Regions from separate parts of the Homo sapiens genome. Here regions 1, 2, 3, 4, 6 and 7 are each linked to region 5. The links are contacts of gene promoters, found by promoter capture Hi-C in blood cells and fetal thymus (Javierre and others, 2016). All regions are on one chromosome and are shown on one strand. Each heading gives the region's core, a stretch centred on a gene start or on the middle of the fragment in contact. The rest is flanking DNA. Distances are from core to core; before and after follow the strand shown.

Region 1 (2,904 bases), core at 202-2,701, 1.4 Mb before region 5:
TTGGAGAAGGGCCTTCACTTATCATTGTAAATAAAGATAATTACACTACCTTGTACTGAGCCGCCAGGTGGCTTAGAAGTAGCTGGAGAAGCGTCACATGTGTCAGTGATCCTTAGAACAACCCCTTTTACAGGATGGGATAAGTGAGGCTTGGGGTCTCAGGTTACCTAACTGATTATCGATAGAGTCAGGATTTGACTTCTGGATTGCCTCAATCCAAAGCCTGCTCTCTCAAGCACTCTGTAGTATGAACGCTGGGTGCTCTGGGGTCTGGCTAACATGTTCCTTAGAGCATTGGCCACAGTCAAGACTGACACCGGCATGTGCCTCAGAGGGCCAGAGCTGAAATGTATTTAATTGCCTTAATTTTCTTTGGAATCAAAAGGCTGTGCACTGCCCTTTGCAAATTAGGAGCCCTGCCGAAACAGTTCAAAATTGAATTAAAAGTGGAGAGAGGCCAGGCATGGTGGCTCACACCTGTAATCTCAGCACTTTAAGAGGCTGAGTGGGAGGATCACTTGAGCTCAAGAGGAGTTCGAAACCAGCCTGGGCAACATAGTGAGACCGCCCCCGTTATGTCTACAAAAAAAAAAAAAAATAGCTTGGCATGGTGGCACACACCTGTGGTCCCAGCTGCCTAGGAGGCTGAGGCAGGAGGATTGCTTGAGCCCAGGAGTTTGAGGCTGTGGAGAGCTGTGATTGTGCCACTGCACTCCAGCCCAGGTGACATAGCGAGACCCTGTCTCAAAAACAAAACAAAACAAAAACAAAAGAGGTAATTTGTATGATCAAAGGACTAAGTCAAACTTAAGGTGGTGGAGAAGAATATAACTTAAGGATCTCCAAGAATTTTTTTTTAATTTTTTTTTTTGTGATACGATCTCGGCTCACTTCAACCTCCACCTCCACCTCCTGGGTTCAAGCGATTCTCGTGCCTCAGCCTCCCGAGTAGCTGCAATTGCAGGCACATACCACTGCGCCCAACTGATTTTTTGTATTTTTAGGGGTTTCACCATGTTGGCCAGGCTGGTCTCGAACTCCTGACCTCTAGTGATCTGCCCGCCCCGATCTTCTAAAGTGCCAGGTGGGTGAGCCACCGCGTCCAGCCTGTAACTAAAATCTTTTGGGGGAGAATACAGGTTAAAGGAAAGGATCCTGGCCGGGTGCGGTGGCTCACGCCTATAATCCCAGCACTTTGGGAGGCCAAGGAGGGCAGATCATTAGGTCAGGAATTTGAGACCAGCCTGGCCAATATGGTGAAACCCCGTGTCTACTAAAAAATACAAAAATTAGCCAGGCATGGTGGCGCCCGCCTCTAGTCCCAGTAGTCCCAGCTACTTGGGAGGCTGAGGCAGGAGAATTGTTGGAACCCAGGAGGTGGAGGTTGCAGTGAGCCGAGATCGTGCCACTGCACTCCAGCCTGGTGACAGAGCGAGACTCTGTCCCCCAACTCCAAAAATAAAAAAAGAGAACAAAAGAAAAAAGAGAGAAAGGAAGGATTCTATATGACTTTTTTTTTTTTTAATAGGGTCTCACTCTGTCGCCCAGACTGGAGCGCAGTGGCACCATCTCGGCTCACCGCAACCTCTGCCTCCCAGGCTCAAATGATTCTCCTGCCTCAGCCTCCTGGGATTACAGGCGCACACCACTACCACCCAGCTAATTTTGTATTTTTAGTAGAGACGGGGTTTCACCATGTTGGCAAGGCTGGTCTTGAACTCCCGACTTCAAATTATCCACCCACCTTGGCCTCCCAAAGTGCTGGGATTACAGATGTAAGCCACTGTGCCCAGCTTCCTATACCACGATTAAGGATGTGACAGCCACAAAGACAGAGCGTATTGATGACCCAAATACCAGGACTGGCATTGCTTTTGGTGAACTCGATTGTCCCAAACGGTGAAACTCTCTGCAAAGTTCTGTGCAAAAAATATTAAATGTTTTCAGCAAAGATGAAATGATTTACAATACCCATTGTATTAATATATTTATTTCATAGCATTTCATATATTTATTCCATACATTTACTTAGGTCAACAATTTCAGGAATAAACTGTGGAAATTTCTTCTTTTCTGGTTTGTTTTTATTATAGTCCAACTTCAAAGAGTCAGAATTAAAGTCCTCAAAAGAAAAGTAATCAAAGTTATCTAAGTTTGCCATCATGGAATCAATAAAAAAAATCATTGCAAAACACACTGATCTTCTTAGTACCTAAATAGATAAGGATATAAAGTAAATGTTTAACTAGTAATTGAGGTTTATCTTATTTTTTAAAATTAACGAGCAATGTAATATTCTTTAAATAAATACTGCTGCTCATTCCTTAAATTTTTATTAAAAACTTTTATTTCAGCCTTTTTTGTTCTTAGTCAAAATTCTTACTTCTGATTAAATGTCTCAAATGTGGAACATGATTGGTAGAACACACAGTTTCTTGGCTGTCCCTGTGACCCATTTCGTAAGACAGGTGGGGGCCCTTTACCTTGGAATCTTGGATTGGATTTCTCTGCCTTTAAAAGAGTTAGATTAGTTTTTTTTTTTTTTTTTTTTTTTACAGAGTCTCACTCTGTCACCCAGGTTGAAGTGCAATGGTGCGATCTTGGCTCTTGGCAATCTCTGCCTCCTGGATTCAAGCGATTCTCCTGCCTCAGCCTCCCAAATAGCTGGGATTACAGGCATTTGCCATCATGCCCAGCTACATTTTTTTAGAGATGGGGTTTCACCATGTTGGCCAGGCTGGTCTTGAACTCCTGACCTCAGGTGATTCGCCTGCCTTGGCCTCCCAAAGTGCTGGGATTACAGGCATTAGCCACCGAGCCTGGCCTAGATTAGGTTTTAAAGTGTCTCTTTATCTCTAAAATCTATTCTGTATTTGCATCTCTAATGCCTATGTTCATAAGAAA
Region 2 (2,946 bases), core at 346-2,845, 1.8 Mb before region 5:
GAAACCTCCGCATCCCGGGTTCACGTCATTCTCCTGCCTCAGCCTCCCGCATAGCTGGGACTACAGGCGCCTGTCCGGCTAATTTTTTGTATTTTTAGTAGAGACGGGGTTTCACCATGTTAGCCAGGATGGTCTCGATCTCCTGACCTCGTGATCCACCCACCTCGGCCTCCCAAAGTGCTGGGATTACAGGCGTGAGCCACCACGCCCGGCTGTTTTAGGGTTTTAAAGAATTAAGCAAAACGAAAAGAAAAATAAAAACACCCTAGATGGGCCAGCGTGGTCGCTCACGCCTGTAATCCCAGCACTTTGGGAGGCCAAGGCGGATGGATCACAAGGTCAAGAGATCGAGACCATCCTGGCCAACATGGTGAAACCCCATCTCTACTAAAAATACAAAAATTAGCTGGGAGTGGTGGCGTGCACCTGTAGTTCCACCTACTCGGGAGGCTGAAGCAGGACAATCACTCGAACCCAGGAGGTGGAGGCTGCAGTGAGCTGAGATTGCACCACTGCACTCCAGCCTGGTGACAGAGGGAGACTCCATCTCAAAAAAAAAAAACCAAAAACATCCTCGACGAAAGACTAACTATACCGTCTTACACATCGCAAGTCTTTTTTCTTTTAAGATGAGATCTTGCTCTGTTGCTCAGCCTGGAGTGAACTGGTATGATCACGGTTCACTGTAGCCTCAAACTTTCGGGCTCAAGCAATCCTCCCACCTCGCTTTCTGAGTAGCTAGGACTACAGAAGCACAACACCACGCCTGGCTAATTATAAAAATTTCTTGTAGAGACAGGGTCTCGCCACCTTGCCCAGGCTGGTCTTGAACTCCCGGCCTCAAGCCATCCTCCTGCCTCGGCCTCCCGAAGTGTTGGGATTACAGGTATGAGCCACTGCACCCAGTTTCAAACCTTTACTTAGTAAATAAGTCTATAATGTGGTGAGTGGGTTTTATAGTTTTGATCCACCAGGGCAGGAGTATCCAATCTTTTGGCTTCCCTGGGCCACATTGGAAGAAGAATTGTCTTGGTCCACACATAAAATATACTAACACTAGCTGATGAGCTTAAAAAAAATTTCAAAAAAATATCATAATGGCTGGGCGTGGTGACTCATGCCTGCAATCGCAGCACTTTGGGAGGCCAAGGTGGGCGGATCACCTGAGGTCGAGAGTTCGAGACCAGCCTGACCAACATGGAGAAACCCCGTCTCTACTAAAAATACAAAAATTAGCCGGGCATGGTGGCGCATGCCTGTATTCACAGCTACTAGGGAGGCTGAGGCAGGAGAATCGCTTGAACCCGGGAGGTGGAGGTTGTGGTGAACCAAGATCGTGCCATTGCACTCCAGCCTGGGAAACAAGAGTGAAACTCGGTCTCAAAAAAAAAAAAAAAAAATCTCATAATGTTTGAAGAAAGTTTACCAATTTGTGTTGGGCCTCATTCAAAGCTGCCATGGGCTGCATGCACCCTACAGGCCGTGGGTTGGACAAGCCTGCATTAGGAGGTAGTTCAGCCTCTTGATTCCCCTTAATCCTGACCTAACTTCAATACACACCCTTGGGGCCAGGCGTGGTGGCTCACACCTGTAATCCCAGCACTTTGGGAGGCCAAAGCGGGTGGATCACCTGAGGCCACGAGTTCGAGACTAGCCCGACCAACATGGAGAAACCCCCGTCTCTACTAAAAATACAAAAATTAGCCGGGCATGGTGGCATGCACCTGTAATCCCAGCTACTCGGGAGGCTGAGGCAGGAGAATCGCTTGAACCCGGGATGCGGAGGTTGCAGTGAGCTGACGCCACTGCCCTCCAGCCTGGGCAACAGAGCCAGACTGCATCTCAAAAATAAATGAATAAATAAATAAATAAAACACCCTTGTCCCCTACCCCACATACTAGAAGCCTATCAGAACAGGCTTGAAATTAATTATTTGCTCCCAACATGACCAAAGTTGCCACTTGCCAACAGTATTTCTTCATTTTTCTTTTCTTTTTTTCTTTTTCTTTTTTCTTTTTTGAGACAGAGTTTCGCTCTTGTTGCCCAGGCTGGAGTGGAATGGCACAATCTCAGCTCACCACAACCTCCGCCTCCCAGGTTCAAGCGATTCTCCTGCCTCAGCCTCCCGAGTAGCTGGGATTACAGGCATGTGCCACCACACCCGGCTAATTTTTGTATTTTTAGTAGAGACGGGGTTTCTTCATGTTGGTCAGGCTGGTCTTGAACTCCCAACCTCGGGCGATCCGCCCAACTTGGCCTCCCAAAGTGCTGGGATTACAGGCATGAGCCACTGCACCCCGCTAGCCAACAGTATTTCAAACCACAAACCACTCATCTCCACATATTCTGTATTTTAGTCATATGAACAGGCCAGATTCGCTATGTGTTTTATGCAGACCTCGTTCTGTGCTCCCCTGAATGTACTGCCCATTAAGTTTACCTCCTGACACACATCTTTACTGATTTCTCCACTAGCAGTTTTCCTCTCAACTTTGGGCAGTTCGGGGATTTTCTCTGTTACTTTCTTATAGAATTCTTCTCGCACTGTCTGGTATTTCTTCCTGCCTGTCTAATCCTCCCCGCAGCTCTAGGAGGCAGGGATGATTCTGGGTATTTCCTTCACTGCCCAGCACACGCCTCACATATGAAAGTTCTTCAATAAATGTTTGCCGCATAGCCAGGCACGGTGGCTCACGCCTGTAATCCCAGCAGTTTGGGAGGCTGAGGTGGGCGGATCACGAGGTCAGGAGATCAAGACCGTCCTGGCTAACACGGTGAAAACCCGTCTCTACTAAAAATACAAAAAAATTAGCCGGGCGTGGTTGCAGGCACCTGTAGTCCCAGCTACTCGGGAGGCTGAGGCAGGAGAATGGCCTGAACCCGGGAGGCGGAGCTTGCAGTGAGCCGAGATCGTGCCACTGCACTCTAGCCTGGGCGACAGAGCA
Region 3 (2,980 bases), core at 76-2,575, 1.1 Mb after region 5:
TTGTGCTGTGTGTATGCCCAACTAACAGCTGTGAAGTATGTACAAACTTTTCATTTATCCAATATGAGTGTTTTGGAATTTTAACCTAAACACTCCTATTTTTTTTTTTTTTTTTGAGATGGAGTCTCACTCTGTCGCCAGGGCTGGAGTGCAGTGGCGTGATCTTGGCTCACTGCAACCTCCGCCTCCCGAGTTCATGTGATTCTCCTGCTGCAGCCTCTTGAGTAGCTGGGATTACAGGCGCCCGCCACTATGCCCAGCTAAATTTTTGTATTTTTAGTAGAGATGGGGTTTCACCATGTTGGCCAGGCTGGTCTTGAACTCCTGACCTTGTGATTTGCCCGCCTTGGCCTCCCAGAGTGCTGGGATTACAGGCATGAGCCACCGTGCCCGGACACACACTCCTATTTTTAAACCTCACACTTTGAATTTAAAAAAGAAAAAAGGTTACCCTGCCGTAATTAACACACTACTTATTTTTTCAGGCATGTGGGCACATTCCATGACAGTACAGGATTATCAGGATCTCATAGACCGAGGATGGCGAAGGTAAAGCTTCCAGATACAAAGAGACTTCCTACTGTTACTCAGGTTCTTGAAAAATACAGCATGCCTTTGAAATGCTTTCCTGTTGGAAAGAGGTTTAAGAAAAATTTTTATTATATTCTTTTATGTAGTGATTTTTTGTCTCCTTTTTAAAAAACTTTGTTAGGAAAATGTCAAATATCTATAAAAGCAGAGAGTACATTAGAATGAACCTCAAGTACCTATCACTAAGCTTCAGCAGTTATTAACGTTCTGCCAATCATGTTTGATTCTCCTGCTCCACCTTTTAATATTTAACAGCAAATTACATCAGTAGGTTATTATGACATTTATCCTATCAATAGATAGGCAATAAGTATGTATCTCTAAGAGAGAGGTCTTTTTTTCTTTTTAACTTATCCACAATGCTGTATCACACCTTACAAAATTAATAAAAATTCTTTGATGTTACCTGTTACCTACTTTTTATTAGATTTTCCAGATTGTCTCAAAAATGTCTTCTTTAACAGTTTATTTGGATAAGGATTTCCTTAAAGTCCACACATGGCCTGTTTTGAGTAGTTATTTTTATGTGGATGATTTTTAAGTAACTCTTAGGTAAAGTTCCTTGTGTAAATATAAGTAATATTAAATACTGTACGCTAATACTTGCCAAAGACGTGGGATTGGGAGCACCAGCTGAAATATCACAACTTTCCTTAAACTTAATGAGATTCAAAAGGTAGACATAGGTCAGATTTTAAAGGACTTCACATGCCATGATAAGGAACTTTTTTTTTTAGAGACATGGTCTCGCTCTGTTGCCCAGGCTAGAGTCGCTCTCTTGCCCAGGCTAGAGTACAGTGCCATCATCATAGCTCACTGTAACCCCAAATTCCCACACTCAAGTGATCCTCTTGCCTCAGCCTCTGCAGTGGCTAGGACTACAGGTGTGCATCACAACACCTGGCTAATTTTTCAGTTTTTTGTAAGATCTTGGCTATGTTGCCCGTGCTGGTCTCGAACATCTGGTTGCAAGTGTTCTTCCAGCTTAGCTTTTCAAAGTGTTGGGATTATAGGTATGAACCACCATGCCTGGCCAGAACTTTTTAGAAGGCAGTCATGGAAGGATTTTATGGTAAGAGAGAAATGTGAAGGAATTTGTTTTAGAAAAGATTGTTCAGATGGCTGAGAGGTATTTGAGGGGGGGTCATAGAGGCAGGAAGATGAGTTCAAAGGTTATTGCGCTATCCAGATGTGCGATGATGAGGACTGTCACCTTAGTGGCAATGGTGATAGAGAAGAGGGGACAATTTAGGATAGGGTTTAAAATGAAGGAAAGCTTGCTAATAGGATATAGAGGTGAATTCCAGGGAGGAGTTTAAAATGACTCCCAGGTCTCTGACTTGAGAACAGAATGAACAGTTCTGTTAGTACCATAGACCTGGAATGCATGGAAAGAAGCGGGTTAGTTTTGGGGTACTCCGTGCTGGTGCATGTGGAATACCCAAGTGTGGTTGTCACAGGCATCACATACATGAGTCCCACAGCATCGTGGGCATTTCTCTCATTGCCCTTGTGGTATTGGGGATTGGTGGCAGGTGAAGGCAGAGCAGGGGTGGCAGATGCTGGTGAGAGGGGAACTGAGATGATTGGCCGTGGGGTACACAAGTAAAGCTTTAGGAAATAAAAGGCAGGGTTCTAAACTTTGCTACACGCACTTTGAAGATTATTTGGCTTATGAAGAGTAATTAAACCTACATGCATTTCTACAATGTTGATTAGATTTTTAACCTTAATTTAATGCTCCTGTGCTAGGCTGTTTTGGTGCAAGTGAAAAATATATAAGACATTAACAAACTATTTTTATAATTTTAGAAGTGGAAAATATGTGTACAAACCTGTCATGAATCAAACATGTTGTCCTCAGTACACAATAAGGTAAGAATTTTAATTAGTAGAAAGAGGATTTATAGTATGAAGATTGTGTATAATATTTTAGTAGTCTCTTGTGCTTTTTTAATGTTTATTTCCGCTCTAGGTAGATGTCCTTTAAAAGGAAAAGTAAATGAGTTATGTCTTTTCTTCATACTGATGCTGTATTTATGTGCTGATCAGTAGGTTTTAGTAATATTGTTTGATTGGTTCAGATATAAATATGTGAAAAAAATACCCTCTTAATTTAGCAATCTTGTCAATGAATGCCATGAAATATTGGGAAAATGTTGGTAAATATTCACATTACTTTTGGATATTAAATATTATAGGACTTAGCTTAGAATTTTCTGCATTCTGGTGTATTGCTTGACACAGTGCTTGTGTTCAAGCAATGCTACAGGCTCCTATAAATTACTTGGTAGGTTCACGTTCTCATGTTGTGGGATTCAGGAGGACAAGAGAGACCTCGGGTTAAAACAGGAGAAACTTTATTGAGTGCACTTAGGCCCAGCTGACT
Region 4 (2,904 bases), core at 405-2,904, 1.4 Mb before region 5:
GTGACAGGCATGAGCCACTGTGCCCAGCCAGATTTAATTTAGGTACATTTGTGTATTAGAAAACAGGCTGGGCATGGTGGTACATGCCTGTAATCCCAGTGCTTTGGGAGGCCAGGGCTGGAGGAGCACTTTGTGTTCAGGAGTTCAAGACCAGCCTGGGCAGCATAGGGAGAGCCTGTCTCTACAAAAAAATTTAAAAATCAAGGTCAGGCGCGGTGACTCACGCCTGTAATCGCAGCACTTTGGGAGGCCGAGGCAGGCAGATTGCTTGAGGTCAGGAGTCGAGACCAGCCTGGCCAACAGTGAAACCAGAGACAGTGGTGAAACCCTGTCTCTACTAAAAATACAAAAAAAAATTAGCTGGGCGTGGTGCTGTGCGCCTGTAATCCCAGCTACTTGGGAGGCTGAGGCAGGAGAATTGCTGGAACCCAGGAGGCAGAGGCTGCAGTAAGCCAAGATCGTGCCACTGCACTCCAGCCTGGGTGACAGAGTGAGACTCCATCTCCAAAAAAAAAAAAATGAAAATAAATAAAAAATTAGCTGGGCATGGTGCGCAGCTACTTGGCAGGCTGAGGCAGGAGGATCACCTTGAGCCCAGGAGTTCGAGACTTTAGTGGGCCATGTTTGTGCTGCTATACTCCAGCCTGGGCAACAGAATGAGGCAAAAAAGGAAATGTAGGCTAGTGTAACTTAAAGGTGAGGTATTTGGAGCTTCTGATAATTGAATGGCAGTGAATTTGAAGTCAGAATTTACGTTAGTGCGAAAACTTGATTTGCATACTTAATGTAAAATATGTGTGGTATATGCTTTCAGATTTCCAAGTGTGGTAGAAAGGAAGTTATTAAAACTTATTCCTGTTTCTTCTGTAGCGTGCTCTTCAGGATCCAAATGTGGCTGCGTTCATGGTAGAACCAATTCAGGGTGAAGCAGGCGTTGTTGTTCCGGATCCAGGTTACCTAATGGGAGTGCGAGAGCTCTGCACCAGGCACCAGGTTGTCACGTTAGCTGTTTGTGATAAGGCTGAATGTCGAGTTAGCTGTTTGTGATGAGGCTGAATGGGCTCCTCCCCAACTCCTCTCTGAATTCTGCTGATTGGATAAATGCAAAGATTAAATTACTTTCCACTAGAGGGCGATGGCATTCTAAGAGCTTAAGTACTTCCTAGTGCTTAGAAACCTGCACAGAAGCAGACTTTTTCCTGTCTCTGGCCTTGTCCTGGGCCCTGTGCAGAACTGCAGACCTGGTCTTAACAGCGTTTCCTTCCTCGCTGCTCTAAGAGCCTTTCACTCTGAGCCCCCGCAAGCCCTTTGTTGTATTCTCTCCTCCTTTCCCCCAGGGCTAATAGTAGTATATTTTGTTTACCATTTGAGAGTTTCTGTCACATATTAAATGCTTGTGGAATAAACAAATGAATTAATTTGTTCCCAGAGGGTAGTTAGGTCCAGAAAAGCCATACAAAACCCTCACCTTTGCATCAGCACCTTTTCACTATGTAGAGCAGGGCAGAATGGGCCTCTAGGGAGATAGTGGCCTGACAAAGGAAATAGTTGGTGAGTCTACAAGATTCTTATAGGATACTCTTGAAATTGTGTGCAGTTAAAACATTTTTACAAATTTGAGGGCACATCAGAATTACACATTTATTGTTGGTGGGGGGACAGTGAAATAAGGATGGCTATTTTCCCTGTGGAAACGAAAGTGATCACTAATAGGGGTATTTTTTTTCCCCAATAGGTTCTCTTTATTGCTGATGAAATACAGACAGGATTGGCCAGAACTGGTAGATGGCTGGCTGTTGATTATGAAAATGTCAGACCTGATATAGTCCTCCTTGGAAAGGCCCTTTCTGGGGGCTTATACCCTGTAAGTTTCATGTTCCCCCTCTTTCCATTTCCTACTCTTGTAAAATATACCCCTAAAGTATTTATACATCAACTGATTGTGACAACAATGCTTTCAGATTGTTTGATTTTACCAAGTGTGCTGCAGGCCACCCGGAATATCTGTAATAAAAACATTTAAGGGACCAGTGTGTGACCCACTTACTTATTGCCTGAAGAATTGAGTGTGCCTTGGAATTTGCTATGACATTGGATTTGGGTGGAAACAGTTTACCCCCAAAGGACTCCTGTAGACTCCTGTCCTTTTTTCCAGTGTTCAGAAACATGGCATATTACTAATTGTTTAAAACCATGACTGGTGAACAAAGAGACTGAGAAAAATTAATGTTTGTTGTAGTTCATGTCTTGGGTTTGCCTTTCAGAGCCAGTAATTGTTACTACATCAGAGGTCTCTGAAGTATAGATGTTTTTGCTGAATAGACAAAACTTTTGCTAAAAAGAATGCTCAGCTTTGTTTTTTAAGCATTTAAACAAAGCATTTCATCTCGACGTTGGAAGTGATTGTGAAATTATATCATTGCAGAAATAGCTTTTCTCTTTTAGTTGCAAAATTATATTGTTTTGTGCCATTGAAGTGTACCTAAAGTATTTGTAATGTTTTAGGGTATGACTAAGTCATTAGGTTGTTACTGGTAGTTAGGTTGGCAGATGTAAACTCTTTCGTTGAAGTCATTAAGTATCAGTTTCTTGGCCGGGTGTGGTGGCTTATGCCTGCAATCCCAGCACTTTGGGAGGCCGAGGCAGGCAGATCACCTGAGGTCATGAGTTCGAGACCAGCCTGGCCAACATGGTGAAACTATATCTCTACTAAAACTACAAAATAAATAAATAAATAAATAACATGTGTGGTGTGGTGGTGGGCACCTGTAATCCTAGCTACTTGGGAGGCTGAGGCAGGAGAATTGCTTGAGTCCAGGAGGCAGAGATTGCAGTGAGCTGAGATCACGCCACTGCACTCAAGCCTGGGTGACAGCGAGACTCTGGGGAAAAGGATGCTTAGTA
Region 5 (3,059 bases), core at 275-2,774:
CCACCAGCTCTATCCCTTTCTATCTGTGGGCAAGCTATTATTCTTTTTCAGCATCTGCAAGATTAAACTACTTGTTAAGATGGTTGTGAGAATTGAGATGACTCAGGTAGAACGAGAACGTGCCTACCACAGAGTATGCGGTCAATAAATTTTGGCTCTAAAACAGAGTCAAATTGTAAAACCAAAGAAATTTTCTTTGCTAAGTTATTAACCAACAATTATAAACAGTATTAAACAATAATCACTTACTGTTTTTTATTGCACTTCAGGCCTGTAAAACAGTCAAATAACATTAATTATCTCTAATAAGAAAAAGGGTCAGAGTTCTGCCTCTGGGCATAAGACTGAAGCAGCAGTTGGAAAGCCTAACTCATTAAAGCAAATGCAAAGGAAACATTAAAAGCACACGTAAGCAGTGGGAAAATTCCCAGTGAAGTGTACTGACAAATACAAGTGTATCCAAATGTGTATGTTCTGAAAAGCATGCTATATAATAGGTCCAAGGGGTGAAGAGCATAGGATGTTAACACAGGGGCTGTTAACAGTTTGTGTGGGTGCACAGATAAGAATTAAGCACAACAAGAGGCTGGTTTCAGCTTAAGTTCATGGAAGAGGGACCGGCACCGGCTCCGGCTCCCCTGGGCGGCGGTGAGTCTATCCACGGAAGATACCCAGGCTCCAGACATGAGATAAGGGGCAGAGGGAACTCTGTCCCTGGCCGGGAAGCCCGAACAACTCCGAAGTCCCTTACTACCTTTGAGCGGGGCCGCGGAAGGAAGGACAGGGAGACACCTGCTCAGAATGAGACTGGGCCTATATTTTAACTATCTTTTTTGGGGGAGGGGGTGTGAAATGTAATCACTCGGGAAAGGTGCGTTAGGGCATCAGGGAGGTGACATCTGTGCAAAATGCATCCAGAGATCCAGAGATCCAGACTCGGTGGCTCTCAGGACGCAACGGCCTGCAAAGGACATCTTGCGGACGCGACCCTCCGACTCCACTCAAGGTACTTGCTCCGCCAAAGCAGCTTCTAGACAGCCCCGACCCCCTTGCCACCAGCTGCCTCCACCAGAGGCCTGAAGGGGGTCGGGGTCATAGACTGCCCGCGGGTAAAGAGTCTGGGGACCCAGGACGTGGAGCGGGGCTCAGGCCGGCGCCCCGAGGCCCGTTAGAAGGCTCTGCCAGCTGCGATTCCAGGGGCCAAGGTCGCCCTGGGCCCCCAGGACGCCAGCCTCGAACGCACTCACCAGCCTGCTGCCGCGCAGCAACCGCACTGCCAGGCCCTCCATCCTCGCCGCAGGCCTCTCCGCTCTGCGCCTCTGGGTCTCTAGCCAGCCCCTGGGAGTTACCCGAGCAAGGCCCCGCCCACTCAGTACCCGCCCCGCACACACCCCCCCTTAATCCCTGCCCCCTGCTGCCTACGGAACCCCAAGAGAGACAAACAGGCCCCTCCTCGCTTTCGCCCTCCATCCTGCTCACGCGAGACTTGAGCAAGGCAGGGGGGCGGGAAGGGAGTCGGAGACACAACAAAGATGGCGGCGGCGACTGTGACGGTGACGAAGACGGCGGCGGCGGCGACGGCATTTAACAAGGCGGTGTGGTTTACTCCATGCAGTTGTCAGGAGGTAAGTAGCAGGCTGCCGGCTCGGACGGCGGCGACGCGGCAGGACAGGGCGGATAAGAAGGAGCGGCCGGAGACTGGAGCTGGGTTCGTGGCGGGCCGGCTGATCCGGACGGAGACTCAGTTCAGTGGAGGGTCGGGCGTGGTCGGTAGGCGGGCAGGTGATGGCCCGGGACCTCTTTAGCCGGAGGGCAGTGGACTGCGGCGCCTATGGCCGCGAGAACCCCGAGGGAGCGGGGTCTCCTGCTGTCATTGCCTTCGAGCAGGAGCTCGGAGGCTCCGGGGCGGGGACTGTTGCTTGGCTCTGACAGGTGGTTCTGCGGGAGGCGTCCCGAGGTTTGCGTCTTCACGGGGTCCCAGGGGCTGGGAGTCAGCCGGGCGCGGGTCTCCTAGGTGTTTCGAATCCTGGCGAGGATGTCGCTCCGAATCTTGGTGAGGCTGCTGCCCCGACGCCGGTCCCAGGCTGATTGTTGGGAGAAGGACGTTTAAAGCCTTCGTATTTTATCTAATGATCCTGCCCGGATCCGTCTCTACTGCATGGGCACCCTTATTTTAGGAACATGTGAGATTTGAGAAAGACATTGTAGCAAATAACTATTCAGGTTCATTCGGGGTTTAGATCTTTGGATAAACTGTGTGGAGCGCGAGTAGCCAAGCCTAGCATGCTCGATGACTGGATCTGAAGCTAAACAAGTTCTAGCAAACACTAACCACGTGGCCTGCTTAGAGTCCCCTTGATGTGCTGGTCAGAACCCGAAAGACGTGTGACAAGCGGAAGAAGACATAAAGGCGTCTTAAATTGTGTGATCTGAGGAAATTCAGTTTTGAAAGAACAGAATGTATTTAAAACAACTTTTTTTTAAACGTAGGAACTAACAATTTTAAAAATTCAATTTAATTTTGATTTATGTCGTGTTGTCACAACAGCTAAAGGTTATTATTATTGATGAGAGTTCGTTACAGTGAATTGAAATGTCTGGTGTTATTTTCCCCTAGCGGTCCAGGATGTTTCCCAGAAAACCGTAGCTGTTTTGTGTTATGATAGGATAAGAAGGATGGGATTCAGATGTGCCCTTATCGGGTGTGCATGTTTTTTTTGTTTTTGTATTTAAAGCCCTTTCCCATTTCCCTACTTAGGACTATGCGTTGTTTTTATGCAACTACAGCTGTTCAGCAGTACTAAGCTTGACCGTTTTGGAAGTGTGCTGTGACTAAATGAAGTTAATCTTAATTTCTTTAAACTGAAGTTTAACTTAAATTTAGACATTAAAAATCTTGCCAAAAACTAATCCACCAGTGAGAAAACGGTAGTCACACCAGTTATTCTTTGGTGATCCTATGGAGCTTTTGCTGAAGTGAAGCTACTGCTTTGTTCTTTGATTAATCTGTCAGTTCGTTTTCTTTTCAGCTAATGTAATGATAAGATTGGCATAAGTTA
Region 6 (3,016 bases), core at 335-2,834, 1.2 Mb before region 5:
GACCTAAGGGGTGGCCTCTCAGAAATTCTGATGCCATCATCTGTTCATTTCATCGGTTGTGTGGGCAAAATGCTGAGAATGGTGTCTGGCATATGGCACTTTATTTTTATTGGTCCATTTGTTCATTCAGCAAACAGGAAAGGGGCACCTGTTATGTGCGAGGCCCTGGCTAGCTCTGAGGACAGGGAGAGAGCCCTCTGTACGGCTGTAAATCTGGCAATCATGTCCAGCCGCAAAGCTGACCAGATTGACAATTTCAGCACAGGGGTGAGGATAGTGTTATTGATTATGGAAGCATGCAGGAAGGGCATTTAATGCTTCATTGGGGTTAGGGTGGCCTTCCTGGAGGAGGTGGCATCTAAGTAGAGCCTTGAAGGATGAATAGGAGTTGGCCAGGCAGAAACGGTAGATAATTTGCAGAGCTCAGTGCAAAGCAGGAAAAAAGTGCCTCTGAAGATACTAAAATATAAAGCTTTTCCTTTCTTCCGGTCTCTTTCTAGACTTATCGTGGTATTTTAAATTTGCTATTTAATGATGTTCTAAATAAAGAAAATTAAAAATTTAAATTGTTAGCATGAATTTTACCATTCATTCTTTACATTGCATAATGTCAGTTTTGAATAGAAATGTAAGAGCATTTAACTCATACACAGAGTCCCTGAAATGGCACAACTTGCATTCTGTATTTCTTGCATTCACGTGTATTTCATTCTTACCAGGATAGTGGAGACCCTCAACTGTTTTTATTTTGCTGTTTGATATAATCACATTCTGCCAACACTCACTGCCTTCGCCTCACTGACGAGTGAGGAAGAATTGAAGGGAAGAAACTAGGGCTGCCCTGCCTTTCCCTTCCCTCTGAGTTGTCATTTTCAGCCTGAGTGGTTGGCTAACGTGGGGAAGCGACAGTATGAAAGGATAAGATAAAGTCTCCTCGGTTATTCGCGTTTCTAAGAACGCCACTGTTTTTCTTCTAAGATGGAAGCGCTTTCTGGTTTGAAGGGAAAGTGTGGCCTCTTGGGTCCGTCAATGTCCTGCTCACGCAGCGTGTCCTTGTGTTCAGGGCAAGTCTCACTGAACTCCCGTCCTGGGCTCACCAGAATTTGATGCTTACCGAGTGACAAGGAACAGAGGACACAAGTTCAAAGACGAAATTAAGAATTTCAAGATGGTGACAGCAGAATAGTAAACCAAGCCTGGGCCCCTCCTGAGCCCAGGGCCCCACGTGCAAGGTGCATGTGTTGTGGAAGCCCCGTGGTGAGCCTGAGACAGCAGAAACTGAGGCCGACACGCATCTCAAACGTGCCTCCTCTGCTCCCACATGTGCTTGACCCATCTGGACTTCACTTACAAAATGCAAGTTTGAATATAAAATTATTAAGAATTGCAAGATGACAACAGGGGAGTATGAAACCAAGAACACAGCCCTTCTGAGTGAGGTCCCGTGTGACTGCACAGGTCACCCACGGCCGGGTAACAAGATACACCGTGGAGAAACTGCAAGAAGTCCCAACACCTGCCCGTGTGCTGCCTCTGTCATTTATAGGGTATGGGTCTCCCTGTACACTACTCTTTCCTATCCCTCTCCTCTTGCCCCCACCCACTCTGTCACTGTGCTTCCATAGCTCCAGGTCCCCCAGAGCTAAGTGCTTGGCTTTGGGGGTGCTGGGCCCCCCGCAAATGGGCCTGGCAGTGGGCCTGCCTCAGGAGCGCTGCAGTAGGCAGGGCCACCTGCCTTGTGGCTGCCACCCACCCAGGGCTGCGGAAAGGCCTGGTGGACAGAGGGCTGGGGGAGCGTGCCTGGAGCGGGGGGCCTCTCCTGTGACTGACACCTAGGCTGTCCAGAGTGGCCGTGGGAGCCCAGCATGGCCCTGCCACACCCCATGCAGCCTCCGGCTTGGCCCCTGCCTCTCACCTTCCACCCCAAACCCCTCCCCTCTGCAGCCAGGGAAGTCTTTCAGAAGCACACGTTGCGTGGTTTGGGCCATCAGCTTTGGCTGGTGTGACAGGGTCTCAGTGGCCAGCCCCTGTTCACCTCTCCAGCCTCATCGCTGGAGTCTCTTTCCAACTGTCTGACCTGGGCCGGTCCCTCCGGAGGGAGCGTCGTGGTGTGTGCTACCAGGATCGGCAGGTCCCGTGGTGGGATGCTGTAAACAGGGGCTTCAAGGGAGCACAGAACGGCTCAGGTATTGGGCAGCCAGACTCTGACTCTCAGTACTGCTGAAGCCACGGGAAGCCTGGGGCGCTGAGGTGGACCTGGTGCAAAGACACAGAGTGCCAGCATGTCTGGAGGGGAAGCAGGGATGGGAGAGATATCGGGGACAGAAACTCATTTCTGGCCAAGCGCCTGGCTCATCTCATCCTCTGCCTTTTGTCTGAGCTGACCATAATTAGTCGTCTTAGTTCCCTGTGGGTGAGCCAGGCTGTGCAGGGGTTCAGAAGGCTTGAAGCACGTCTTGTCACCCTGGTCCAAGCCGGTCTATTTCTGGCAGTTTAATTGTGGATGCTGTGTTCCTGGCGTGGGAAGGAAGGCAGGAAGGACCTGGAGGAAGTCGGAGCAGGAGAGAAGCTCTGGTCGTGTGACTTTTCCAACCATGGCCCCTTAGGAACAGGCTGCTCCTGGCAACTCAGCTATTCTGCTCCCACCTATTTCTAGCTCGGGGCAGGAAGCTGGTTTAGCAGGGAGGGGAAGCTTCTTGTTAGACTCAAGAGACCAAAGTGCATTTGGAGAAGAGCCATCGAGGTCTGTGTAACTGTCAAGTTCTGGGTAGACATTGAGTTCTGTGTAAAGATGGGGATAGGCTTGGGGTCCAACAGACCCAGACCAACAGCACCTCTGTCCCTCCCAGGGTGGTGTGACAATCCTTGGAAATAACTACACGGCCAGGGCCAAGTCGGTGCTGGGCACACAACACGCGATCCATCAATGGTGGTGGGCATCCCGTCTCTTCCTTCCTTAATAAAGACATCTCAGGGTGAAAAGGGGATGGCGCTGGGCAATACTAGGGTGGAGTGG
Region 7 (3,032 bases), core at 1-2,500, 1.5 Mb before region 5:
CAGGGGCGGTGGTTCACGCCTGCAATCCCAGCACTTTGGGAGGCAGAAGCGGGCGGACAGCTTGTGCCCAGGAGTTCTAGACCAACCTAGTCAACATAGTGAGACCCTGTCTCTATTAAAGAAAGAAAGAAAAAGTACAATACAAAATTGAGGCCGGGCGTAGTGGCTTATGCCTGTAATCCCAGCACTTTGGGAGGCTGAGGCGGGTGGATCGCTTGAGATCAGGAGTTCGAGACCAGCCTGGTCAACATGGTGAAACCCCTGTCTCTACTAAAAATACAAAAATCACCTAGGTGTGGTGGCGCATGCCTGTAGTCCCAGCTACTCGGTAGGCTGAGGCGGAAGAACCGCTTGAACCTGGGAGGCGGAGGTTGCAGTGAGCCGAGATTGCACCACTGCACTCCAGCCGGGGCGACAGAGCAAGACTTTGTCTTAAAAAAAAAAAAAATTATATGCAGATAACAGCCCTGCATAGATGAGGATGCATAGGACCTGGGCTGAGAAGAAAACGGGACTATCACAATGCGTTAAACCCAGGAGGTTTTTGGATAAGCTATAAAATACCACTCGATGCTACATTATTTTTGCAATAAATACACATTGATATTAAAAGGGAGGAGTTTCCTCAATGGCCCCTCGGAACCTTTCAAGTTATTAAATAGAAACGAGAACACTTTACTTCTGGTCCAACATAGCTTTGAGCTTTCAAAGAAGAGAGGATCATATTATTTCACCATTTCTTTTCAGGCTCTTGATTCACAGAAAGGATGAGGAATTCGTTGAAATGTTATGGGGTTCAATGAATTGTGTATATTTTGTTGACATGCTTACTAGGGGAGCTGTTTACAAGTGAAATAAAATACAGTTCCTACCCTTTGGGATTTCCACTAATGGGGTTGGGGAGTAGTATACCTTATATAAGGGTTCTTAGTCGCAGACAATAGACACCACTCCAGCTAGAGGGGTTTTGTTTACATGAGGTGAAGGAGCTTACAGATGACGGGTCTAAGTCCTACACAGCCAGGAGCCATGCAGCCACGAGAAACACTTAATTTTACTACTCCATTGGGACCACTGCCCCATCACTTAGTGCAGCCCCCAGCATAGCTGCCCCCAAAAGAACAAAACATATCCACCACTGTGCCCTCCACCTGTGGCCACCCACTCACTTTCACTGTGTCTGGCTTGGTGGAACCTAGCCCACGCTGCAAAGGAGTCTGGGAAATGCAGTTTTTAGTGTTCCAGGGGCTGAGTGAGTCAGTTTGGAGAATCTGCTAGGAACATCATGAACCGTACACGTATTGAGACCCTACTCTGTGCAGTGGGCACAAAAAAGTTCTAGGGTGTGATCCTTGCCTTCCAGGATCAAGACTGGGCAGAGAACAATGGAAGACCTTCACGACTGCTGACCAAATGTGTGCCAAGTGGCAATGAGTGACACAGACACAGTCAAGAGGATGACCTCTGCAGGCCTAGGAGGGCAGCTGTGGCTTCTGGGCAGGGGCAGCCTGAAATGGACCTTGGAGAATGGCTGGGCTTTAGCTTCATGCCAAGGAGGAGGAAAAGGGGTGCTTCTGCCAGTGGTGTGAGCCTACCCATAGTTGTTTCTTTTCAGTCAGCTCTGTGGGTACTCTTGGGCAAGTCCCTTTTCATTTCTACGACTACAGTAGACAGAATAGTGCCCCCTTGAGATGTCCACCTCCCAATCCCCACAACCTCTAAATATATTACCTGACATGGCAAAAGGGACTTAGATCTTGCAGAGCCTATGCTCCTGTAGGGAGATTATCCTGGATGGTCCAGGTGGGCCCAGTATAATGACATGAGTCCTCATAAGGGAAAGAGGGAAGCAGGAGAGAGTCAGAGTCAGAGAAGGAGGTGTGACAGCAGAAGCAGAGGTCAGAGAGAGAGGTGTGAAGATACCGTGCTACTGGCCTTGAATACAAAGGGGCCATGAGCCAAGAAATGCAGGTGGCCTCTGGAAGCTAAAAAAGGCAAAGAATTGGATTCTCCCCTAGAGCCTCCAGAAGGAATGCAGCCCTGCTGGTACTTCAAGTTTAGGACTTCTTACCTCCAGAACTATAATAATAAATCTGTTGTTTTAAGCCACTAAGTATATGGTAATTTCTTGCAGTAGTGACAAGAAACAAATACAGGGATCCAGGTCCCTCACCTGAAAAATGTGGCAAGTCTCTAAGTGTGGGCCACTGATAGGCTAAAACTTGATCTGAAAATTCCAGGCTTTTCTTGGGATGCAATGAGTGTAGGGCATTGTCTATGTTAGGGTTGCATTTGGCTACATGTAACAGAAACCCAGCCATAGTTGCCCAACCAAATCAGATTTTACTTTTCCTCATATATCAAGAAGCCAAGAGGGAGGAAATCCTGGATGGGACAACAGCTCCCAGGACCATCAGGCTGCCTCCTGCTTTCTGCTCCACCACTCTCTCAGCATGTGGCCTGCTCCTCACGCTAGCAAGATTCCTGCTCCACCCGAGGCATCATGACTGCATTTCAGGCAGGAAGGAGGGGAAAGAAAAGAAAAAAGGGCATGTGACAGCTGAGTCTGACCCTTTATACCCAGAAAGCAAAAGCTTTCCCAGAACCCTGATCCAATGGACTCTCATTTGCATCTTTTGGGCCAGAGCTAGCCAGGTGGCACATGAACACCATAGTGTGCCAGGAAGCATACACCACTGACTGAGCTTTCAGCCTGTTATAGCAAATCTACAACTCATGTCTGAATTTCAGCTCAACTATGAATCTATCAACCATCTATTGCTATACTAGACATATGCCTCATCCTTTCAGATTTGCTTGTCATAGTCAGGACTCTTCGGCTGCCAGTGACAGAAGCCAAATTTCAAATGGCTTCAATTTAAAGGAATTTATTGGCTCGCACAACCAGATAGTCTAGCAATGGACAGCGTCAGGCATGGCTGGTTATCAGCTCTGGGCTCACAGAGTCTCCGGTACACCACCTGGTGAGGATCCTTTTCCTCAACTTGGTCTGGCTGTTCCAGAAAGAACTC

The links. The method cuts DNA at HindIII sites, captures the fragments that hold promoters and counts their contacts. A CHiCAGO score of 5 or more calls a contact.
Region 1: a contact is called between a fragment that was not itself captured here and the fragment with the promoter of IKZF5 in region 5, in 2 of 17 cell types (fetal thymus and naive CD4 T cells). The highest score is 6.1, in fetal thymus.
Region 2: a fragment that was not itself captured here is called in contact with the fragment with the promoter of IKZF5 in region 5 in 1 of 17 cell types (total B cells); the score reaches 5.4 in total B cells.
Region 3: a contact is called between a fragment that was not itself captured here and the fragment with the promoter of IKZF5 in region 5, in 3 of 17 cell types (total CD8 T cells, non-activated CD4 T cells and naive CD4 T cells). The highest score is 6.8, in total CD8 T cells.
Region 4: a fragment that was not itself captured here is called in contact with the fragment with the promoter of IKZF5 in region 5 in 1 of 17 cell types (naive CD4 T cells); the score reaches 5.5 in naive CD4 T cells.
Region 6: a fragment that was not itself captured here is called in contact with the fragment with the promoter of IKZF5 in region 5 in 1 of 17 cell types (fetal thymus); the score reaches 5.1 in fetal thymus.
Region 7: a contact is called between a fragment that was not itself captured here and the fragment with the promoter of IKZF5 in region 5, in 8 of 17 cell types (fetal thymus, total CD4 T cells, activated CD4 T cells and 5 more). The highest score is 11.8, in fetal thymus.

Annotation. Positions count from the first base shown.
Region 1 is chr10:124,425,030-124,427,933 of GRCh38, reverse strand. No RefSeq gene overlaps it. Among named protein-coding and RNA genes, the nearest start is that of OAT, 7.6 kb to the right of the region's middle. The HindIII fragment of the contact is 4,361 bases long and covers 1-2,904 here.
Region 2 is chr10:124,808,206-124,811,151 of GRCh38, reverse strand. The region is part of intron 2 of ABRAXAS2 (abraxas 2, BRISC complex subunit); the gene reads right to left. Among named protein-coding and RNA genes, the nearest start is that of ABRAXAS2, 7.9 kb to the right of the region's middle. The HindIII fragment of the contact is 5,680 bases long and covers 1-2,946 here.
Region 3 is chr10:121,921,835-121,924,814 of GRCh38, reverse strand. ATE1 (arginyltransferase 1) reads left to right here. Exons shown (of 12, transcript NM_001001976.3): 2 at 486-549; 3 at 2,404-2,466. Among named protein-coding and RNA genes, the nearest start is that of ATE1, 4.7 kb to the left of the region's middle. The HindIII fragment of the contact is 1,089 bases long and covers 781-1,869 here.
Region 4 is chr10:124,401,887-124,404,790 of GRCh38, reverse strand. OAT (ornithine aminotransferase) reads left to right here. Exons shown (of 10, transcript NM_000274.4): 6 at 871-993; 7 at 1,736-1,864. Among named protein-coding and RNA genes, the nearest start is that of OAT, 16 kb to the left of the region's middle. RefSeq lists a silencer at 957-1,251 and enhancers at 957-1,251, 788-1,331. The HindIII fragment of the contact is 9,199 bases long and covers 1-2,904 here.
Region 5 is chr10:123,007,260-123,010,318 of GRCh38, reverse strand. IKZF5 (IKAROS family zinc finger 5) reads left to right here and starts at 1,524. Exons shown (of 5, transcript NM_001372123.1): 1 at 1,524-1,625. It overlaps ACADSB (acyl-CoA dehydrogenase short/branched chain), which reads right to left and starts at 1,313. Exons shown (of 11, transcript NM_001609.4): 1 at 1,248-1,313. The coding sequence starts at 1,289. RefSeq lists enhancers at 1,408-1,737, 2,018-2,247. The HindIII fragment of the contact is 4,856 bases long and covers 1-2,807 here.
Region 6 is chr10:124,232,778-124,235,793 of GRCh38, reverse strand. No RefSeq gene overlaps it. Among named protein-coding and RNA genes, the nearest start is that of CHST15, 140 kb to the right of the region's middle. The HindIII fragment of the contact is 2,220 bases long and covers 475-2,694 here.
Region 7 is chr10:124,458,540-124,461,571 of GRCh38, reverse strand. No RefSeq gene overlaps it. Among named protein-coding and RNA genes, the nearest start is that of LHPP, 1.8 kb to the left of the region's middle. The HindIII fragment of the contact is 2,693 bases long and covers 1-2,596 here.